Linked DNA regions of Homo sapiens: all the other regions are linked to region 1. The links are contacts of gene promoters, found by promoter capture Hi-C in blood cells and fetal thymus (Javierre and others, 2016). All regions are on one chromosome and are shown on one strand. Each heading gives the region's core, a stretch centred on a gene start or on the middle of the fragment in contact. The rest is flanking DNA. Distances are from core to core; before and after follow the strand shown. Region 1 holds the start of TTC39B (tetratricopeptide repeat domain 39B). Region 2 has its middle 3.1 kb from the start of CCDC171. Region 3 overlaps PSIP1 (PC4 and SRSF1 interacting protein 1). Region 4 overlaps PSIP1 (PC4 and SRSF1 interacting protein 1). Region 5 overlaps SNAPC3 (small nuclear RNA activating complex polypeptide 3).

The links. The method cuts DNA at HindIII sites, captures the fragments that hold promoters and counts their contacts. A CHiCAGO score of 5 or more calls a contact.
Region 2: a contact is called between a fragment that was not itself captured here and the fragment with the promoter of TTC39B in region 1, in 6 of 17 cell types (non-activated CD4 T cells, total CD8 T cells, total CD4 T cells and 3 more). The highest score is 9.7, in non-activated CD4 T cells.
Region 3: a fragment that was not itself captured here is called in contact with the fragment with the promoter of TTC39B in region 1 in 9 of 17 cell types (activated CD4 T cells, total CD4 T cells, total CD8 T cells and 6 more); the score reaches 16.8 in activated CD4 T cells.
Region 4: a fragment that was not itself captured here is called in contact with the fragment with the promoter of TTC39B in region 1 in 8 of 17 cell types (activated CD4 T cells, naive CD4 T cells, total CD8 T cells and 5 more); the score reaches 16.9 in activated CD4 T cells.
Region 5: a fragment that was not itself captured here is called in contact with the fragment with the promoter of TTC39B in region 1 in 8 of 17 cell types (activated CD4 T cells, naive CD8 T cells, total CD4 T cells and 5 more); the score reaches 15.0 in activated CD4 T cells.

Annotation. Positions count from the first base shown.
Region 1 is chr9:15,305,966-15,308,820 of GRCh38, forward strand. It overlaps TTC39B (tetratricopeptide repeat domain 39B), which reads right to left and starts at 1,251. Exons shown (of 20, transcript NM_152574.3): 1 at 1,119-1,251. The coding sequence starts at 1,160. RefSeq lists enhancers at 1-452, 1,016-1,578 and silencers at 816-1,135, 1,166-1,505. The HindIII fragment of the contact is 2,405 bases long and covers 1-1,492 here.
Region 2 is chr9:15,548,528-15,551,382 of GRCh38, forward strand. No RefSeq gene overlaps it. Among named protein-coding and RNA genes, the nearest start is that of CCDC171, 3.1 kb to the right of the region's middle. The HindIII fragment of the contact is 3,429 bases long and covers 1-2,855 here.
Region 3 is chr9:15,496,317-15,499,171 of GRCh38, forward strand. The region is part of intron 3 of PSIP1 (PC4 and SRSF1 interacting protein 1); the gene reads right to left. Among named protein-coding and RNA genes, the nearest start is that of PSIP1, 13 kb to the right of the region's middle. The HindIII fragment of the contact is 2,963 bases long and covers 13-2,855 here.
Region 4 is chr9:15,465,895-15,468,749 of GRCh38, forward strand. It overlaps PSIP1 (PC4 and SRSF1 interacting protein 1), which reads right to left. Exons shown (of 16, transcript NM_033222.5): 14 at 2,736-2,855; 15 at 854-965. It also overlaps a transcript of SNAPC3 not described here. Among named protein-coding and RNA genes, the nearest start is that of PSIP1, 44 kb to the right of the region's middle. The HindIII fragment of the contact is 697 bases long and covers 1,000-1,696 here.
Region 5 is chr9:15,446,043-15,448,897 of GRCh38, forward strand. SNAPC3 (small nuclear RNA activating complex polypeptide 3) reads left to right here. Exons shown (of 9, transcript NM_001039697.2): 5 at 1,053-1,202. Among named protein-coding and RNA genes, the nearest start is that of SNAPC3, 25 kb to the left of the region's middle. The HindIII fragment of the contact is 5,903 bases long and covers 1-2,855 here.

The sequences.
Region 1 (2,855 bases), core at 1-2,500:
TGTCTCTCTGTCATGCAGAGGAGCTGTAGTTCAGTTTTTGTTTTTTGTTTATTTTACGGAGCACATTTAAAGTATAGTCTTCCTTGTCAGGAGATTCCTGGCACTAAAGAGATGGACGGGAAACTTAACCGCCTCCTCCAGATCGTCCACTATTGCATCATTTGAAACCAAAGCCTTCTAAAGGCAGCGACTCGCACAATTCAAGTCAGGTAAGATGGCAGGAACAGCAGCTGTGGGTGCTGGCTGCTGCTGGAGCCTCGGTCTCAACTTCAAGAGCAGGGAGAGCGCTGTCTCTGGAGTTGCCAGGTGCTGAAATGAATAGTCAATAAATCAACAGGTCCGGCGCGCTAGCCCCTGGGTGCTCAGGCCCGGGCGCGCCACGACTGAAGGAGTGGCTAATTACTCAAACACAGTTGAAACCAAAGGAGGCCGGAGTCGGTTCTCAAAGTGGTTTCCCTCCGGCCACCACCGACTCTGAGGACCTGCTAGGGGAAGTGTCCCGGCCCCGTGGAGGGAGAGGGAAGCACCACAGCCTGGGCTGCGGCTCTAGCCCTCCAGCCCCAGCCCCTGGCAGCCCTGCCCTGCTGTCGCGGCAGGTACCCCTCTACTCATTGTTCCTCAGGCTGCCCCCTCTTTTCATCAATCGTAAGCCTTTCGGTTCTGCCACCAGGAAACTTCCATAGAAGGTGAGATTCCCAGGTCGAGGGATGATTCCACGAACACCCAGAGAGCCAGTGCCAGGACTTCAGGGTCAGACTTCGTAAAGCCCAGGCGTCGCTGGGCCGGCCCGGAACAGCTCAGAGCTGCGGGTCCTATGGTCCCGCGCCCTCACGCCCATCCAAGTGCTGGCAGGACGTGGGTCCTCCATCCCCACGACTCGCGGGGCCGGCGCTCCGAACCTCGGCACTGCGTCCGCTCCGCGCGCCGCAGGGACCCTCCTAGCTCCAGCGGGGACAGACCTACCAAGGCCGGGCGCCCCCACCCGGCGCCCGCCAGCCCACCCCAGAGAGGGGACCAAGGGGGCGGGGCCTCGGCCGTCCTAGCCGGGCTCACTCTTCTCTCCCGGACTCCTGTCCAGGGCTTCAGGGGCCGGGCCCGCAATCCCCATCGGATCGTACCTCGTCCGCTTCCAGCTCCGCTCGGCTGCCTAAGAGCGCCATATTCCTCCTCTGGCTGCTGCCACCCAAAAACCAAGCAGGGAACTCAGAGCCGACTCCTGCTCTCGGCTCTGGGCTCAGCCCAGCGCAAAGGAGGGCAAAAGGGGACGGCCCGGCGCTCCCTCCGGGTCTCGGGCGGGGCCTGAGTGCAGCTACTCGATTTCCCCGCCCCCGGAGCCGGCAGGCCAGCACAGCATCCATTTCCTCCCCGGACGCCGCGCCGCTGGCCGGGCCACTTGCCCGGCCCCCAGCGGGCGGCAGCCCCGCCCAAGTGGGTGGAGTCACCTCCCAGATAAAGTTTCCCGGTCTGGCACGCCCTCTGGGAGGGTTTCCTAAGCTTTCCTGCCGCCTGTTCTCTGCGGTGGCTGGGCACACCTGGAAAGAAGCTAGAGAGCGCGGGCATGACGAAGCCAAGGTCAAAGCAGCGCCCCACCTGGGGTCCGTGGAAGCATCCACCTGGTCTTTGGTCCGGTGCCAGTCCTTTTCCCTCGCCAGGTGGCCACCGCATCTCGCAGATGGTGTGGCCTGAGGGCAGCCTTGGGTCACGGTCACTGGTCCCCGAGAGGCCTCTGACACACCACCCACCTGGACTGTAGGTGGAAGGACTCTGCTTGCTTCTGTGTTCAAAAAATAGAAAAAAACGCGGGACAGAGATTTATACATATTGGAACTCCTCTACTTCCCCCTACCCGGACAGTGTATTCTCCCCATAGCATCCTGTATTTTGTAACTCCAAACATAGGTGTATAATTCGTGCTTGAACTATAAACTCCATGGGGGTAGGATGCTATCTGTCCTCTTCAAGACTGTATCCCCAACACCCAGAACAGTGTCTTGCACATCGTAGGTGCTCAACAGATATTTGTTGGCTGAGTTTAGAAACTGAACCTTGCTTCTGACATGTAAAATAACTGGAAAATTAAAAGCTAGATCTTTAAGAGTTTGGGGGAGAGAGGTCAGATTTACTTTACATACAGAAAAATGCACCAAGTTAAATGTGTGATTCAGTGACAAGTGTTTACAAAGCATCCCAGTCATAATATAGAACATCCTGAAAAGTTTTCTGTGACCCTTTGCTGTCAATTTCCTACCTCCGCTCCCTAGCCTCTGTCAATCACTGATCTGCTATCAACATCGATTTGCCTTCTCTAGAATTTCATATAAATTTAATTAGAGCATGTGGTCTTCCATGTCTGGCTCATGAAAGGCTATTTAATAGTCATCCAGTGATAACTGTAAAAACAGCTAATAGTTCTTGAGTCCTTACTATGTGCCAGGACTCTACTGAACCTCTTGCATATAGTATTTCATTTATTCTTCATAACCCCATAAAGTAGGGTGCTGTTCTCTTTCAGATGAGTAAACTGAGGCTCAGAGAGTTCAAGTAATATGCCTGAGGCCAGACAGCAGTTAAGTAAGTAGGGATGCCAGCATCTGAACCCCAGCAGTCTAACTCTAGGGCCTAGCTGATAACCATTGCTTTGTACTGTACTGGCTCTAGCCACCCTCCCTCTCTTTCTTTCTGTGTCAGTAGAGCAGTTGTCTGTGCAAGTCCATTACATACATTTTCAGTGAGTCACTTTGCATCCTTAATACTTGCTGTACAATTTTAATGGCTTGGCATGTACTTTTGTACTAGAATAATAAAATGGTTTCTACAGCAGAAACATTGAAAAAATGGGTTAGATCGTGTGATGG
Region 2 (2,855 bases), core at 220-2,719, 240 kb after region 1:
TAATTTCCTTCAAGAATTTTTCCTGTGCATTAATACCTTGGCTACCATTTGGCGCAAGAGGCCTAGCTCTCAGCCTGTCTCGGATTTTGACATGCCTTCCTCACTAAGCTAATCATTTCTAGCTTTAGGTGTGTCTTCCTTTCACTTTAATGCTTAGAATTAGAAGTCATTGTAATTTGGGGGACACATTCAAACCATAGCAAATGTGAAACCCCTTAGTATAGTGCTTGGCACATATTACATGTTTAATAATGTTATTTGGCTAAGAGTGGTGGTTCACACCTATAATCCCAGCACTTTGGGAGGCCAAGGTGGGCGGATCACTTGAGATCAGCCTAGGCAACATAATGAAACCCTGTCTCTGAAAATAAAAAACATATAAATTTAAAAAACAAACACAAAATAATATTATCTGGATTTAAATCTTGTATATTAACCTATGTATCTTAATACTTTTAACACAAGCCCATGCCTACCTCTTATTACATTTATTCCCAAACATTTTGTGTTTTCTTTTGCTAATGTAAGAATGAGAAGGAAGATTTATTGCAAGGTCAGAAAAAGCAAGTCTGGAAAGGCGGGTAGGGAGATTAGGGCCCTTGACTGACAGCAGAAAATCTGGGTTTTATCCAGGCAGCAATTGAGGGGCCACCAAAAGAAATAATCAGTATAGTAACATAATCAGAGTTATGCTTTAGAAGGATATTTCCGTTTTAGCATATAGAAGGAGCATAGGACCAGAGCCACTGAGAGCAACAATTATGGCAAGGCCTTTCAGTTCTACGAATTGATACCAAGGCAGCATAATAATCAAGAAGCTGTGGGGTGGGGGGTGGGGGGTGGGAGACTAGGGGAGGGATAGCATTAGGAAAAATACCTAATGTAGATGACGGGTTGATGGGTGCAGCAAACCACCATGGCACATGTATAGCTATGTAACAAACCTGCACATTCTGCACATGTACCCCAGAACTTAAAGTATAATTAAAAAAAATAATAATCAAAACCTGGTATTTAAACCTTCTAGGGGAGGTTACAGAAGGGTCAAAAGAATGTGGTTCATCTGGTGCTTTAAAACTCTGAGGCTCACATACGTACAATCAGTTTATTACACTCCCCTAGTTTCATAAAGATACAGGTGTTCTTAGACCTGCTTTTGATTTTTTTCTATTTTTTTGATCCTCTCTTCTTATATATGCCAGTTTAAAAATGCCCTAGATGTTAATGGTCAACTTCTAAAAATGTCAAGAATTTGCACAGAAGGGGAAGGTGAGTGACTTGCATTGGGCCACAAGGAAGGTCCTAATTATGAGTGTCTCAATAGGAAGCAATAAGGAAACAGACAAATGAAGTTGCTTAGTACTAAGTAGGCACAGAAAGAAGACATGAGGTTTAGAGAAAAAGTAGGAATCCTGCATGCAGGAAGTGAGAGTTTGAGAGAGAAAGACGCAAACAAAATTTTTAGGGTTTTTCTTGCCTGGGTGTCTAGGAGATTAGAAGTTTTATAAACAGGTGGGAGAGTAGTTTAGAGGATTCCCACAAGAAGTTAGAAAGATAATTAAAATTTAGTTATATTAAATTAAGTATTTCCAGAAATTAGAGTGGCACTGTTCAAACCGGGGTTAAAAATTCAAAACTAGAGCTCAGGAGAGGTCAGAGATGGATATAAAGAGTTGAATATTGGGGATATGGAGTTCATACTTGCAGGAATGGATGACATCACTGAGGACGCTTATCTGGTACAAACGATGGGAAGGTTGAGGGCAGAAACTGAGAAAATATCACTTTGAGGGGCAGGAAGGGAAGAATGGTTTCCTGAGCAGCAGCAGAAAGTTCAGAGAGTTGGAGAAACAATGGAGTATAGAGTCTCACCTTTGCTGGAGAGGCATCTGAGGATCAACATGTGTCAGCAAAGTCAAGGGGTCTCAGATTTGGCAATGAGGTCACTACTGACTTTGGAAGCTATTGGTAGAGTGGTGTGAATGAATGAATCTAATCATATCTCAAAAGGATTGGTAGAAAGAAGAGAGAGAAATGAAGTGATGTTGAGGCCAAAAGATAAGCGGGTAGGAGAACATCTCTTTATATAGCTTTTTTCAAGTAGTAGTAGCATGTTAAGCAAATAAAAGACAACAGAGAATCTCCACGCATTTTGAAATGGTCTGATTTATTGTGTAATTTTTATATTTTTTCTGCTTAAAACCCTTCATTAGCTTCATTGCTTGATAAACTCCTAAGTATGATGTAGAAATTCCTCTGTGATCTGGGTTCTGCATATTTCTCTAGCCTCATCGCTCACACCTCCTTTGCACAGACAGCTTTTTCCAGCTTTTCAAATGTCTGGTGCTGGTTCTTATGCTGGTGTTTGCAGCTTCCGTGTCTTCCTTCTAGTTCCTTGTTAGCTTCATAAATCTTTAACGGTCTTCTTAAACTAAGCTCAAAGTTCTTTTCTATGAATCATTTCTGGGAGCTCAGGGTTGATATCAATATTCCCCTGTATTTCTATCATCTAGCTCCATGTTGGGTACATAGTCTGTATTCTGTAAATGCTGAATGAACAAATAAATGAAAACGGGTCTTCACATCACATCCATTTTTCATTTCAAAAACATACAATATAGTACATAGCATTTATTCTTGCGATACAATATTCACTTTTGTGACTTTGTTAAAACACAAATAATTTTTTTTTTTTTTTTTTTGAGACGGAGTCGCGCTCTGTCGCCCAGGCTGGAGTGCAGTGACGCAATCTCGGCTCACTGCAAGCTCCACCACCCGGGTTCACGCCATTCTCCTGCCTCAGCCTCCCGAGTAGCTGGGACTACAGGCGCCCGCCACCACGCCCAGCTAATTTT
Region 3 (2,855 bases), core at 244-2,743, 190 kb after region 1:
CTTCTCTCTTCAAGCTTTGAGTTTAAATTCCACTTTTAACAGACAGCAGTATTGCCATTCCTGCTTTCTTTGTGACATTGTATCATTGCTTGCTCTTGTTTTGTTTGAGCTTTGTCTCACAAAATAAGACATAGCAAAGTGGTTTATTAAAACAGAAAGTCTTAACAGAACTATATTCATTCATAAAATGTAATGTTTACATTTAGTTTTATTCACACCACCTCATTTTACGTGTACCTTTTCACTACAATTGTTTTTTATTCTTAACTTTGCTAAGTAGGTTTTTAAAAAAATTCACCCCTTGCTCCTACTCCCAGATTCAGATTTACAAGTTGTACCTTTCATTATTAACCATAATGGTTCAACTGATGTCATACATAAATTCACGTATCTTAATATACCAAAAATTAAATAACTATGTTCTTCCAACTGAAAAGACTTTTACAAATGTAAATTCATGTTAAGTACAGAAGATTTTTAAATTCGCACACTTTTTTTTAGTTCACATAATTCAACATCATTAAGTTATCCAGGAAATGTAAATCAAAAATCACAATATACTACCGTCACTCCCACTCAGACGGCCAAAAAATAACAAATAATAACAAGTGTTGGCAAGGATGTGGAGAAATTGGAACCCTCCTACAATTGCTGGTGGGAATGTTAAACGGTGCAGCTGATTTGGCAAGTCTGAGAGTTTTCTCAAAACGTTAAACGTGAAATTACATCTGACCCAGGAATTTTCTCCTAGAGAAATGAAAACTTATGTTCACAAAAAAACTTGGACACAAATGTTCACAGCATTATTCATAAAAGCCAAAAGTAAAAATAACTCAAATGTCTATCAAGTGATGAATAAATATGGTAAATCAATATAATGGAATATGTGACAATAAAAAGTAGAGTAGTAATGTACTATCACATCCAGGCTAGAGCATGGATGAATCTTGAAAAACATCATCCTAAGTGAGAAAAGCCAGCCACTGAAGACCACACGTTCTATGATTCCTTTTTTTTTTTTTTTTGAGACAGAGTCTTGCTCTGTCACTCAGGCTGGAGTGCAATGGTGCTATCTTGGCTCACTGCAACATCCTCTGCTTCCCAAGTTCAAACAATTCTCCTGCCTTAGCCTCCCAAGTAGCTGGAATTACAGGCATGTGCAACCACGCCTGGCTACTTTTTATATTTTTAGTAGAGATGGGGTTTCACCATGTTGTCCAGGCTGGTCTCGAACTCCTGACCTCGTGATCCGCCCACCTCGGCCTCCCAAAGTGCTGGGATTACAGGCGTGAGCCACCGCGCCCGGCTGATTCCATTTATATGAAGTGCCCAGAATAGGAAGAAAGTAGGTTAGCTACCACCTAGACCAAGGTGGGAAAGAAGATTGGGTAGAAATGGAAAGTAAATGCTAATGAATACATGGTTTCTTTTTGGAGAAATGAATTATATTTTAATAAAGCTGTTAAAATTTTTTGACAATAACATATCCTATCAAAGTAAACTAATCCACAATCTCACCAACTAAATCTACTGTTTTCAGCCCACTTATTTGTATATATACATATATAACTATGCAATTTCAATGTATATGATACAAACTTACTCAAAAGTAGACCTCTTTAAATTAAAATGAGTATCTTTTTATGTCAACAATTACTTAACACCTACACACTATTTCACTGAATAGCTAAACCTATTGTTGGGCCATTTTCCATGTCAAATTTTATATTATAAAATCACACTGCTATAATAAACATATTGCTCAATCTCTGCACCTATCTTCACAATAAATTCTAAGAATAAGTGGGTCAAGCCGGGAATGGTGGCTCACATTTGTAACCCCAGCCCCAGCACTTTGGGAGGCCAAGGCGGGCGTGTCACCTGAGGTCAGGAGTTCGAGACCAGCCTGGCCAAGACGGCAAAACCCCATCTCTACTAAAAATACAAAAATTAGCCAGCCGTGGTGGCGTGCACCTATAATCCCAGCCACTAGGAAGCCTGAAGCAGGAGAATCGCCTGAATTCGGGAGGCGGAGATTGCAGTGAGACAAGATCGTGCCACTGCATTCCAGCCTGGGTGACAGAGTGAGGCTCCGTTTCAAAACACAAAACAAAACAAAAAAACAAAGAGTAAGATATGCTCAAGACTGATGAACTCTTAATGAGACTCAAAAATGACAGCAGATGGAAAAAAAAAAAAATCTTCCTTGGGCACGCAGTCCGACAGGTTTGGTGAACAGGGACCAGATTAGTTTTTCGACGGACATCACTATACTACTTCCCAAGGGTACAACCTTGTGCAGCTGTGGTTCTGATTCATTCTTCAAGGCATTCCACTTTAAAATTACATATAAAAAAATCCTTAATATGCTAAGTAAATGCAGGATATAATTATACATAATATCAAATACCAAAAAATTGTAAGTCAGTCTGAAATACATCAAAATGTTAACAGTAGGTCTGACTGATTCATTCTTCAAGGCATTCCACTTTAAAATAACATACCAAATGCTTAACATGCACACAAAAGCAGGGCATAACTATATACGACAGAAGCTCCTTTAAAAAATGCACAGACAAGTTTGAAAAAAACACGTCAAAATATTACCAGGTTTAGGGGTTATTTCTAAAAAATAGGAGTAAAAAGGATTTGTTTCCTTCTATATTGTTTTTTAAAATTTTAACAAGAAAAGATACACATTCAAGGTAACTTACCCACCAAATTCCAGAGCTGAAAGGAAACTGAGGGATCACCAAAAACCTCATTTTAAAGATGAGAAAATTGAAATTCAAAAAGACTGACTCAGGCAAGGTCACCTACCTATTAAAACAGCAGAGTCTCAACTTGCAGTGTTC
Region 4 (2,855 bases), core at 98-2,597, 160 kb after region 1:
TTTATATCTGTGATACCAACATATTTCAAAATCTTAATAAAAAGAGAGGTTGATACACACATAGACAACAAGATTTCCCTCAATTTCAGAATTAGAAGGGATGCTTCTATCTAACTCCTTCAGATACACAGTGGAACAAAGCAAGACTTCAACTATGGCTCCATAGCCTATTTTAGGGTGGGTATTAAAAAATAGCCTGTGATGGCCGGGCATGTTGGCTCACAGCTGTAATCCCAACACTGGGAAGCCAAGGTGGGTGGATCACCTGAGGTCAGGAGTTCGAGGCCGGGCTGGCCAACATGGTGAAACCTCATCTCTACTAAAAATACAAAAAATTAGATGGGCGTGGTGGCAGGTGCCTGTAATCCCAGCTACTTGGGAGGCTGAGGCAGGAGAATCGCTTGAACCCAGGAAGTGGAGGTTGCAGTGAGCACGATCGTGCCATTGCACTCCAGCCTGAGCAACAAGAGTGAAACTCTGTCTCAAAGAAAAAACAACAACAACAAAACTGTGATTCTCCATCTAACTTTTTACAATTATCCTTTCACAATTCAAGAAAGTGTGAATGCAAGTCATTACTAACAGTATCTCAGTAAAAGTAGTCCAGGAGCAAATATTTTCTTTTTAACTGGGTTCCCAGCTAGTTCCATTCCCTTGAATTCAGTGGCAAAGTCACTGTCAATAAAAGGTTTTTACTCTTCTTCCTTTTTGAATTGTAACTTGCTTACTGAATTCAGGAATTGGGTGATCAAAAGATAACTGCTTATTATAGTAAGATAACCTTGGAACAGAACTGTGATTAAAAACCTGAATAATAAAAAACACACAAGACCCATTAAAACCTATTCCTCACTTTTTCTTCGTGCTGGCTTCATGGTTGTCTTTGCTGTCTTCATTGCTCTCCCCGTTATGTTGTGGCTGATTACCATCTTGAGCATCAGATCCTCCATTTAGAGTCTTTGACCCTTGCGAAGGAATCCAATGGAAAAACTTTGTTAAAGCTTACAAAACAATAATTGAAGGTGTCCACTAAAGATCCAGAATCAAAATACAACATGGCCATCGTGTTTCTACTACTTAATGTCTTTTATTTGAAATTACATTGTAATACAGCCCTCTCTTGAATGTTAGAATTGGGTTTTGATGGCTTTGTCAAAAAGGGGAGCAGATGACCACCAGAGGCTTTGGGTAGCTAAGGCACCATAAAAAGCAGGTTAACTATCTATGAGTACAGGAAGTGGATTATTAATCTGATTATTCTGGTTGTTACTATTACCAGGAATACTACAGGGTGTTGTAATTCTTAGCATATTCATTTATTCTACCACGGAAAAGCAATGTGAATCAAATTTTAAAATTTACTATTTTAGAACAAAGTGCTAAAGGAGTATTTCCTAATTGATATTTTTGTGCCTAATAAAGGGGGTTTTCCTGTAAGTCGTATTAATAATTCTCTAAGGGGACCCATGTCATTCCCCAATAAAGCAACAAAAACAAAAAACCAACCGACTGCTTTTGAAATGCCAGCTTTTACCTTAAGCAGCTGCCACTAAGATGTTTAATAACAAGACTGGAGGAGCTGATAATGGTACTATGATTCTGTTTTAAGAGTCTTTCATACATTCTGAAATGTTTATGAGTGAAATGGTATGTCAGGGATTTTTCGTAAAACAACTTTCAAGAGGGGCATAGAGAAAGCTTATGGGCTACAAAAGCACAATGATCATAAACTGAACTGCCAAAGCTGGATGACAAGGACATGAGAAGTTATTTCTATTTGTATAAGTTATAAATTTTTCCTAATACAAATGAAAAGAAAATAACTACTGTTAGTAATAAGTACTAGCAGGATTTAACTACTGCTAAAGTTAGTGAAAAAAGTAGAAGCTAAGGTTCAGTGCCTTACATATATGCTACACATCTAAGTGCTTTGTAAGACTTTATCACCAGGCGCGGTGGCTCATGCCTGTAATCCCAGCACTTTGGGAAGCCACGGCAGGTGGATTACCATAGGTCGGGAGTTCAAGACCAGCCTGACCAACATGGAGAAACCCCGTGCCTACTAAAAATACAAAATTAGCTAGGTGTGGTGGCGTATGCCTGTAATCCCAGCTACTCTGGAGGTTGAGGCAGGAGAATCGCTTGAACCCAGAAGGTGGAGGGTTGTGGTGAGCCGAGATCACGCCACTGCACTCCAGCCTGGACAACAAGAGCGAAACTCCATCTTTTAAAAAAAAAAAAAAAAAAGGACATGGCATTAATACTGTGAAGTCTGTTCAGGGTAACTCAGCAGCATCATCAGAATACCTGTATCAAGTAATGGCAGGTGTAGTCTCCACCTATGAGGCTGTGTTTTAATTTAAAAGGCTACTGTACGCTATTTTACTTTTTAGGTGAGAAGAAAACAGAAGCAGCTGAGCAACCAGGAAGTGGGTACTCTAGGGATTAGGAGGCATTGTGATGGATGGGTTTTTAAAAATTGTTTATCCAGAGTCATCTGCCTCATGAGCAATGGTTTCTGCCTTAGAAGTCGAATATAAACTGACATGATTTTTTGTTCTCAATGCACACTGCTCTAGTCCTTCAATAGGCCCATCAGATTTTCACCATTTTGCCTTTGTATACTTTTTCTGTGGCGTATACACAGTGAAACTATGTATGAAAGCCATTTTTAAAAGCAGTCCTGGCAAATGGTTTAAAAACTGGTGTGAAATTGTTGGCTTTTTACCACATACCTGTTTGTTCCTTCTCTAGCTTTTTGTTTGGCCCTTTCTTCCCTTGATCTTTGGTTTTATTCGCTTCCTCATGCTGTCTTTGTTCAGCAAGAGATTTATTCAGCACTTGGGTGATCACGG
Region 5 (2,855 bases), core at 109-2,608, 140 kb after region 1:
GCCTGACCTCAATGAAGTAACTTTTAGGAAATTTTAAGACAGTCTTGCTAAATGAAGTTACATTCCAGTGGATCTTAATGCTCATGTCAGTTTGGTATCATCTTGATTATAAACTTCAGTTTAAACCAGAAAATTTCCATGGCTGAGTATGTCAGTTGTACCCATGGGATTTTTGTTGGTTTGTTTGTTTTTGAGACAGGGCCTTGCTCCATTGCCTAGGTTGGAGTGCAGCAGTACAATCATGGCTCACTGCAGCTTCGCTCGAGCAATCCTCCTGCCTCAGCCTCCCAAGTAGCTAGGACTACAAGCATGTATCACAACGCCCAGCTAACCTTTAAATTTTTTGTAGAGATGGGGTTTTGCTATGTTGCCCAGGTTGATCTTGAACTTCTAGGCTCAAGCAATCCTCCTGCTTCGGCCTCCCAAAGTGTTGGGATTACAGGCATGAGCCACTGTGCTTGGACATTCCATGCTATTCTAATTTATGGAGATGACTGAGTGATGACATGGAGAGGCTATAATGCCTTTGAAAGGAGATTTTTATTACATTTCCTTAGAGGAGGGGGCACACCATGTAGGGCCACAGGAAGAAGCATCATTCTCATTTAGGAGGCTGAAAGGGGAGAGGGGAAGGCATAGACCACAGTTTTTATTGGGGTTTCTGTGGGAAAGACAAGGTAGGGAAGAGTAAACAGTTTAGGATTGGCTAGTTCGAACAATTCCAGTAGGTTTGGTGGCAGAGGGGCTGTCCCTTGTAGCCTGGTGCTTGGCCCTGGGTGGATTGAGGTTGAGGGAATACCAGGGGAAATAGTGGCTTGGTGTGTAATAAAGGAGGTGGTTTCAGAGTGGCTCTGGATCACAGGGGAGATGTAAACAATTTTGACCATGAGTTTGGCCCTATAATTATTGGATGTGAAAATACAGAGCATCAAGTTATGGGGACAATTTAAAATTAAGAAAACCAGCAATTTAATTTTGATCTAGTCATGACAGGATTTGTAGTTTTATCGCTTTGTCTCTAAATGAACACTTATTTATTCTTTGACTTTTAGCACAAAGAACACAAACCATACCAAACAATGCTGGTGTTGGGCAGTCAAAAACTCACACAACTGAGGGATTCAATTCGATGTGTCAGTGACCTCCAGATTGGTGGTGAATTCAGCAACACTCCTGACCAAGCCCCTGAGCACATCAGCAAAGTAAGGTGATTTCCTCCCATAAAACAAAAGGAAATAACAAGCTAAGAAAATAGCGATTACTCTAGCTGGTTCATAAATGTCCCAGTAAATCCTTTTCTTCTCCTGCGGGATTCCATCAAACTACACTATCTCATTCCTTCCCTTTATCACCGGAACTTTTCCAAAGAAGAGGCTAGACTCTGTTTTGATTTCTTCATCTCTCATTTGTTTCTAAACTATTGTATGGAGACTTTTCCTTCTGGGCTAATAGTGACCACCTAATTTTCTTTTTTGTTTTTTTTTGTTTTTTGTTTTTTTGAGACAGAGTCTCGCTCTGCCGCCCAGGCTGGAGTGCAGTGTCGCCATCTCAGCTCAATAGTGACCACCTAATTTTCTAAGCAGTTGGTCACTTTTCCATTTTTATGTAACTTGACCTCACTGTAGCATATGACTTTGCTGTTCATTCACTCGTTTGAAGCTCTGTCAGAGTTGTGATCTGTCATGATTGTGCCCAGCAAAAGGCTGGAGTCGACCTGAGAGCCTCAAATAGTTAGCACCCATTCTTCACCTTTCGCTGCCCAAGGACCAATACCCAACAAGGAGAGAGCATATGAAGTTGGTCCTTGCTGGTGTTTCCCCAATGTGTTGCTCTCAAAAGGAAAGAGAAGCCCTGCATACCCCCTGGATAAGGATGGAAAGAAGCAGTGTGGTAGACTGGCTACCCACAATGTTTTCAGAAAGGATCATTTACCTAATAAAGCAGGAGGGCCTTGATCCCTTCCACATTTCATCATAGGGCAGGATTGAACTAAACCTGCTACAACTCTGGCAGAGGGCCTCAGGTTTACAGGGCCATTTCAGGGGAGGGATAGCATCTCCTAGAGATAAGTAAAAAGATATTTGGAACAACAAGGATGGAGATAGTGTTTGGACAAGAACCAACACAATCTCCTTTTTTCCTGGGTCCTGTTCCACCAGCCACATAAATGTTGGTATAACTGAGGTTTCATGTTAACTTTTTTTTTTCTCCCTAGGCTGACATATAAGGCCTTTTATAATGATGCTTCCCAAATTAACTTTCTGAACTGTTTACTTGCTGCCTTTACACCTCATTCATCCATAGTGAATTTGTGTATTTTCATCAGTGTACCATACTTTTTCATGTCTCTGAGTATTTGAACATGGTAGGAAGCCCTTTCCCTACTTCATCCGTTTTGTGAGTTCATCCTCAGATTTCCAAACCCAGCTCAAAACTCACCAATTATATGCAATTTTTCTTGACTCCTTTCTTTGTTACCCTGGCACCTTTTCTTTTGTCCATTGTAGTATGTATTTCAGTATGCTGATTCAGTGTAATGTGTGTCCGTCTGCTCCACAGGCTGACTATATTCGTTTTTGGTGACTAGTGTGGAGACTAGCATATGGCTCACATGTAGATTTCACTTAAGTACCTGTTGAGTTATGCTGAAAATGGTTTTTAGATATTTAGGTTCTTCAGGGTTGCCATCTCAGTGCTTTTGGAGAGAAACAATAGGATAAGAAAAGTAGAATTTCAAAATTTTACGCGGAGCAGGAAATACGAGATTTATCTTTTTCTTTCTTTTTTTTTTGGATGGGGCTCTGTTGCCCAGGCTGGAGTGCGATGATGCAATCTCGGCTCACTGCAACTTTCAC